Linked DNA regions of Homo sapiens: region 1 is linked to region 2. The links are contacts of gene promoters, found by promoter capture Hi-C in blood cells and fetal thymus (Javierre and others, 2016). All regions are on one chromosome and are shown on one strand. Each heading gives the region's core, a stretch centred on a gene start or on the middle of the fragment in contact. The rest is flanking DNA. Distances are from core to core; before and after follow the strand shown. Region 1 holds the start of SLC44A1 (solute carrier family 44 member 1). Region 2 holds the start of SMC2 (structural maintenance of chromosomes 2).

What was found. Contacts are between HindIII fragments. The CHiCAGO score rates a contact against its expected background, and 5 or more counts as called.
Region 1: a contact is called between the fragment with the promoter of SLC44A1 here and the fragment with the promoter of SMC2 in region 2, in 4 of 17 cell types (total CD8 T cells, activated CD4 T cells, total B cells and 1 more). The highest score is 9.2, in total CD8 T cells.

The regions. Positions count from the first base shown.
Region 1 is chr9:105,242,559-105,246,200 of GRCh38, forward strand. It overlaps SLC44A1 (solute carrier family 44 member 1), which reads left to right and starts at 2,093. Exons shown (of 16, transcript NM_080546.5): 1 at 2,093-2,346. The coding sequence starts at 2,311. It overlaps LOC112268038 (a long non-coding RNA gene), which reads right to left and starts at 3,035. Exons shown (of 3, transcript XR_002956866.2): 1 at 2,461-3,035. RefSeq lists enhancers at 1,735-2,639, 2,640-3,543 and silencers at 1,866-2,465, 2,476-2,615, 2,956-3,035. The HindIII fragment of the contact is 7,272 bases long and covers 1-3,642 here.
Region 2 is chr9:104,092,969-104,096,588 of GRCh38, forward strand. It overlaps SMC2 (structural maintenance of chromosomes 2), which reads left to right and starts at 1,341. Exons shown (of 25, transcript NM_006444.3): 1 at 1,341-1,509; 2 at 2,356-2,584; 3 at 3,180-3,329. The coding sequence starts at 2,417. RefSeq lists enhancers at 624-1,293, 756-1,075, 1,294-1,961. The HindIII fragment of the contact is 5,032 bases long and covers 908-3,620 here.

The DNA.
Region 1 (3,642 bases), core at 843-3,342, 1.2 Mb after region 2:
CATTTTATGAAGCACTGCCACAGTCTGTTACGCATTTATCTCCTTCTACAGTTCCAATTACAGAATAAGCACTAGCTACTACACGGAACGGCAGCACTAGCCAAAAAGATTTTTCTAATCTGAGAGAAATGCTCCCATATTGACTCTGCAAAGAGAAACAACTCCCCTTTCCTTGACTATAAAGAAGGAAGACAGATGGCTTCTTGTTTAGGACTGTAGTTTTACTTTCAGCCTCCTCCCCGAGTTAAAAACAAGATGTACTTTTCTGGCTTTGAGGGAAAATCTCAAGGGAATGTTTTTTATTCTTGGCTGCACTGAATAATTCAACAAACATTTGAGAGAGCTGAGGGAGATACAAAGGAGAAAATACTTTTCCTTGTTCTCAGGGAGTTTACAATCTAATTCTGGAGTTTACAACCAGAATTGGGACTAGAACCATTAGTTTTATGTCTTCACTTGTATTTATTGGTTTAATGGTTATGGGAAACACATGTAGGATTCGCCAGCTCCGTGGTATGGTGGACCCTCTGATTAACCTGAAAGGAAACTAGAAAGAATGCAGAAGAATTCAAGATCTCAATCAGTTGAGTACTTGCTGACCTAGCAGCACTTTCTTATGTTATTTAATCTTGACCACAAGCCTTTGCAGTCATCCCTGCTACCAGCATTTCACAGAAGCGGACAATGAGATTTGGAGAGATAACTCGTCCACAGTCACGAACTCAGGAAATGGCATAGGAAAACATCAATTAGGAATTCTTCTTCCCTGGCCCTTTCTGTAGCTGTCCCCTTACAGGCTACCATTCCAACTTTCCTTGGCTTAGATTCCCTTTCAGTGCATGTAAAGTCAATTTAATTCTGTGTTCTTTTCTTCCCTCTATACTTTAACTAATCTTTAAAACTTGATGTCTCATATTTGGTGAATCAGTCCTTTTGGAAGTCTCACTCCCTTGCAGCTTTGCAAATAAAGTTTTTCTTTTCTTTCCTGTGGCTGTCTTTTGAGACATTCTTTGACAAGATGAAATGACATATGAAGGCTATAACAGTGCCTGATAATGTGGGGTTTTTTTTAACATCATTATCTTTAGTTTTATTTCTTTCACTTTTTAACTGTTTTCACCTCATACTGTATTTCCTAACGACTCGTTTGGAATTGTAAATTTCTTGAAGGTAGTTACCACGTCTACTCTAACTTGTTGCTACTTCCTTGAGTCTTACTGATTTAGCAACAGGAACTTGGTAAGTCTCTTTTGCTCGCCTCTTTATTCCCAGTACTAGTCACTGGAACGTAGTGTGTCTTCAGTAAGTATTTTTAATATGAATAAATTAATGTCCCCTTATTGTTTTTTGTAGACTATCCTGTATAAGAAAGTTTAGCTTAGATCCAGTATGGCTTTGACTTGCGAGCCTGGATAACTTTTTGCCTTTTCCTCATTTCTGGCTATTTATTACCATTTCAACCTTGGGAACATTTCATTAGGTTCTTGGTCCCTTTCAAGCCTCAGTTTCCACATCAGCAAAATGGGGACAGTAGCAACAGATGCTTGTTTCTTCCCGTCTTCTTATCACCTATTCCTTCTCCAGGAAAGGTTTCTTGTGTACGCTTTCCTCTGGAGAAAAAAAACAGCCGACGGGGCGGTAAGAAGCCATCAGGATCCTGAGTTGTGCGTCCAGTAGGGAGAGGGAGAAGTCCCGCTTGCCTCCTAGATCCGGAAGCAATCCGGCCCCTTTTTGGCAGCGAGTTGGCCCGGTCTTTGGCTGCCTCAGACCGCGTTGCCCTCCAGCCTCGAGGCAGAGAGCTGCCTCGGTGCCACAGCTAAATAAGCCCGGCGCCGCGCAGCCTCTGACACGCGCGGAAGGGCCCGGCCTTGTTCTGGCTGCCGCCGCCCTGCCACCAGCACGGCGCTGCACTGGGGGCGGGGAGTCTGATGGGAGACGCGCGCGGCGCTGAGGAGGCGGCGGCCCGGGAGAGGGAGCGGGAGAGGGACTGGGCGCGGGAGGCGGGAGGCGGGGGGACAGAGGGAGGCGCCGCCGCCGCCGCCGCCCGCCCCTTTCCGCTGGGGAGCAGCTGCTGCAGCAGGAGCAGAGCAGGAGACGCGTAGCCGCCGTCGCCGCCGCCGGGGGATGTGGCCGGCGCCTGCCTCTAGCCGCGCCGCCTCTTGAGTACCAGCCGCCGCTGCAGCCGCCGCCGCCGCCTAGCCGTGCGGTGCCAGGCCGCGCCCTCCCCGGGCGCCCGCCGGCTCGCATGCCGAGGGGCTCCGGGGCGTAGCTGCGCGCCCGGCGCCGCCTCCGGGCTCCTTCGGCCCCGCCATGGGCTGCTGCAGCTCCGCCTCCTCCGCCGCGCAGGTGAGGGGCTCCCGCCTCCCGGCCGCCCGCCCGGATGCCTCCCGTGCGCCGCGTCGCGCGGCGGGCGCCCGCCGCCCGATACCTCTCGCTGTCCCCAGCCTCCCCTGAGCGCACCGTGCAGTCCAAAGACCCCCACTCCGCCTTTCCGTCCGCCGGGTCCCGCCGATGCCCGTGCGCTGGCTCCGCGGCTGCCGACTCAAAGGCGCCTCTGCGCGGCGCCTAGTGCGCCCTCAGCTCTTCCCGGCCCCTTCCCCAGTCGGCCCCCTCCTCCCAGTCACACCTGAGCTGCCCGTCCCGCCCGCCTGCAGGTAGAGGCTGCACTGGCGCCTCCTCTGCCCCAGGTGGCATCCCCTTCCCTGTTCTTCCGGGCCTGGCTCCTCTCTTCCACCTCCGTGGAGTCTCCCCGCCATCCGCCGCCCGTTTTCTGTGCTCCTCGCAGGTGTACCCCCAGCAAGAGCTCTTCACCTCTCCCACCGAATTCCAGTTTCTGCTTCATTAGATATTCTGTCCCTTTTCTCTTGCCCGCTGCCCCCTGGCTGGGTTCAGATGGTTTCAGCGGGTCCCGGAGCCCTTCCACGGCCCGCTCCGCAGACCTCGCTTGCTCGCTTGCACCCCATCCCCCCTTAGTGCCGTGACCCGGGCCCCGCGGCCTCCCCGCACTCGGAGGCCCCTGCGGGAGCGCCGACTCTGGGCTGGGAAGGAGATTGGGCACCTGGTGGGTGACGGGAGCGCTACGGAAACTCCCTCTTTGTTGCCAGTGTAACAGGAGGAAGAGGTTCCGAATTTAGTTTTTCTGTGGGCACTGGCTGAATGTTGTCGCTGAGGGCTGAGATGCAGAGATTTCTCTCAGCTTCTACCCTGCCCCCATCCAAATTTCGCCAACCTCCTTCTCTCGGATCCGAGCCCTTAACCTGGGTGGAAATGTTTAGACAACTGTACGAGGATCAAATGTAATAGAACTCGACTACTGGCCACTAATAACTGAGAGGACCTGTTTGTAAATTACCTAATTTAGTGGATTAGCGAGTGTATTTACAAATACTATAAAAAGCAATCAGGAATACTGCATCAAACTGTCTTGTGGTGGTGTATGAAAAATAGGCTCTGACAACGCCTGGGATGTAATCTCACAGTTTCATTAGCGTAGTTTCATTAACTGTGGTCTGTGATTTGTTTGTTTTAGGGGGCAGAAAAGGGCTCTTGTTTTTAGAAATAAAGGATGGTTGGTTCTTGGTGAAGAAAAACGCTAGTTTGGGGGGAAAAAATTCCTCCAGAAAGCTAGCATCTGTGATAATG
Region 2 (3,620 bases), core at 91-2,590:
GGCCTCTGCCTCTCCACCATGCGAGGACAGAGCCAGAAGGTGCTATCCACTAAAGAGAAAGCACCCCTCCCTAGACACACCTTATTCTGTGACATTCCAGCCTTCAGAAATGTGAAGAATAAACTTCTGTGGTTCATAAACTACCCAGTCTAGGATATTTTGTTATGGAAGCCCAAAAGGATCAAGCCATTCCAAAATAGCATTGTTGCCCACACCATCTTTTTGAACCTCACTTAGGGTAACACCATACCCATTCGGAGTTAAGCCCTTCCTAACTCTTAAGTATCAACGTGCTTGGAAACGTGAGCAATCCTGACACGTTTTTTCTTCCTAAAGAACAATACATACTAATAATAGGATCGGCTAATAATACTAGATTCTATGCATGAAGCCTAGTATTTAAAAGCATGCAATCTGGAGCTAGACCGCCTGGGAACAAATCCCAGCTTACTAGACAAGCTGTTTAACCTTTTACTTGGTCTCATTTAACTCATTTGTAAAACGAGGGCAATTTCTGATTTCATAGGGTTGCTACGTGGATTTTAAAAAGCCCCTTGCAATATAGCCTAATATTCAGAACTCAATAACATGAACTGTCTTAAAAGGTTTCCAGAAAAAATCCCCAACAGGTTAGGTCGGCTTATCATTACAACGCTTTCCGGTATAAGGGAGATGAATAGCTATTTAGCACCACACAATTTCTCCTCTGGGCTCGGAACAGCTCTCGGTAGACTACGATCCCTTTCCGACGTGGAAACTTCAGATAAAAACGCTCCCCGAGGTCCGAGGCCAGTACGGGGCGGAGCCAGGACGCGGGCCAGAGTCCCCCGAAGGACGGTGCCTCTCTGGCCCCAAGAAGTACAGCTTTTATTTTGCAGCAATCTGAGCCAACCCGAGAAGATTCTGAAGCTTCCAAAACAGAACCGACGAGAACACTCATAGAATGCCTCTCCACTTCCTAACTGTCGCTTTGAGGAGAGAAAAGTAAGCCACAGCCAGCACCGCAGACTGGAGAAGGCGGAGTCTGCAGTGTGCCTAACGCGAACTAGAGGGACCGAGGCGGGGCGGGGCTGGCGAAGCGCGAGGACCCGGGGCCGAGGTGTGGGGCTGACCATAGAGTGCCGGACGCCGGTGTGAACATACACTATCTGCTCCTGTAGTGCCCAGGCCCCTGCCGGGGAGTCCCCGGAGCTACCATTATCGAGACTCTCATTCTATTGCCCTGCGGCTTTAATCCTTCGAGTGTAGGGGAAAAATTGAACCCTAAAGACAGGCAGCTCCTAGGCACCAGCACAGGAAATAAGCAATGGAGGTGGGGTCCTTTGCTCGCGCCGAAATTCAAAGGAATAAATAGTTCCGGCGCGGGTGTTGAGAGCGGTGTGGCAGGTGTTGTAGCCGCTATGGTGAAGTTCGCTTTGTAGCGGCCCCGGCTAGAGAGTTGTTCTGTTCCCTGCCTTTGTGACCCGGAGGAGCTTTTGGGGTGCGTCAAGCCCCTGGCCTGAGGCAGCGGTGAGGCGTGTGCGTGAGCACGGCCGGTTGGGCCGGGCCAGACTTCCTGGCGGGAGGCGGGAGGCGGGAGGCGGGGCGCGGGGCGCGGGGGCTGTAGGGAGGGGGACCAGTGGCAGAGGGACCTTAGGTGATCCTTAGAAATAAAGGCTAGCTTCTGTTCGACCTTGGAGTAGGGCGAAGAGGTGTAGACAGGCCTGGAGAAGCGAGGTAAAAGCCTGAGTAAAAGCAAGAAGTTGGAGAATATGAGATACATCTCATCTCTAGTAAATACTTAAATGACTTCCCCTCCTCCCGGAGTCAAGCACAATTCGGGGATGCAATGACGGACGTAGGTGAAGACACTGCGGGAACTTACAGACAAGTAATGACCGTCTAATATCAGCTTTAAGTACCATGAAGGAAAAAGAAAGCCGAGTGAAGGATTGTGGAGAGGTGACATAGGGAGGTCAGGGAGGACTCCAGTAAGGTGACATTTGAGCAAAGACGTGAGTGCAGTAGAGAGTAAGCTATGTCAGTATCAGAGAAAAGCACATTATAGGCAAAGATAATGGGATATGTAATAATCCATAGTCTTTGTTTAGGTAGAGTATGATAAAAGTAGAAGGCAAGCCTGGAAAAACGGGTAGAAGAAATAGTTAAGACTTCCCAGTTGAATGGTTTAATTTCCAGATAGTGGCTAACTCTGGTATATTTTTGAGTAGATGAACGATGTCTTTACATCAGACAAGATAGTTTGTCAAGTGGCTGTTTTATTTCTATCACCCTATCGTTGCTGTTTTTGCCTCGTGTTCATTATGATTCCAGGTTTACATTCCACTTAGGTGGTGGTATTTCTGTTTCGTACAGAACTGGTTTGTGGCCTGTTTGATTCCTGTCAGAGGTTTGCTGACCCAAGACAGTATCGAAAATGCATATTAAGTCAATTATTCTAGAGGGATTCAAGTCCTATGCTCAGAGGACCGAAGTCAATGGTTTTGACCCCCTCTTCAATGCTATCACTGGCTTAAATGGTAGTGGGAAATCCAACATATTGGACTCCATCTGCTTTTTGCTGGGCATCTCCAACCTGTCTCAGGTAAAGTGTAAACTTTCTGATTTATTTGAATTTAAGTTGGCAGGAGAATCCTCACTGAACTTTGGAGACGTCCCGATATTCTCTTCATTTGTGTTTTTATACTTTTTGTAAATTACACCTCACTGCAACCTTTTAAGGAAAGTAATATTACTCCTTTAGATGAGAAAATAGAAACTTAGAGATGTTTAGAAGTAACAGTGCCTCAAAACTCAGGCATTCTGACTGTAAAGCAGTCTCATTCCAGAGTATTTTCAACCCTGTGTAATGATGCCTTTTCAAATCCTATTAATGGATTGAATGACTAGTGAAAATCTTTGGGACAGTATTTCCTTATATCTTGCAAAGTAACTTTTTATTAAAAAATGAATAGGAAACAATTCAATTCAGGGTTGAAAAGGTTCTGTAGAGAAAAGTGTCCATTGCAGGTTGTTGCCTATTTTCCTTGTTTTTCTTGCCAGAGGATGCAGCTGCCTAACCTTGTCTACTTAATGGACACTACGTTGGTGGGTTTTCCAACAGCAAGGGACCCATTTTTAGTGCTGCTTTGTACGGTAGGGAGTTTTGTAATTGTTACACTTTTCATATTTTATTTTAGGTTCGGGCTTCTAATTTACAAGATTTAGTTTACAAAAATGGGCAGGCTGGTATTACCAAAGCCTCTGTGTCAATCACTTTTGATAATTCTGACAAAAAGCAAAGTCCTTTAGGATTTGAGGTTCATGATGAAATCACAGTAACAAGGCAGGTGAGTGGCAATTAAACCTTTGGGTATCTTAAGACCTTTTATGTCTGATGTGGTTTTTGGCCCTATGCCTTTGCAAAACGTGCTAGAGAAAGTTCATGAGCAAAATTGGTGCCTTAAATTCTGACTAGATTCCTTAATGTCTTCCTTATATTAAAATCTTGATCATGCACATTCTATCACTAAGAGGATTGAAAGACAGCTGAAAAGTTGTTCATCCAGTATAAGCACTCAGCTATGCTGAAATCTTAAACCATATTTGAATCTTCTTTGGTTGTTCTTGAACACCTGTGT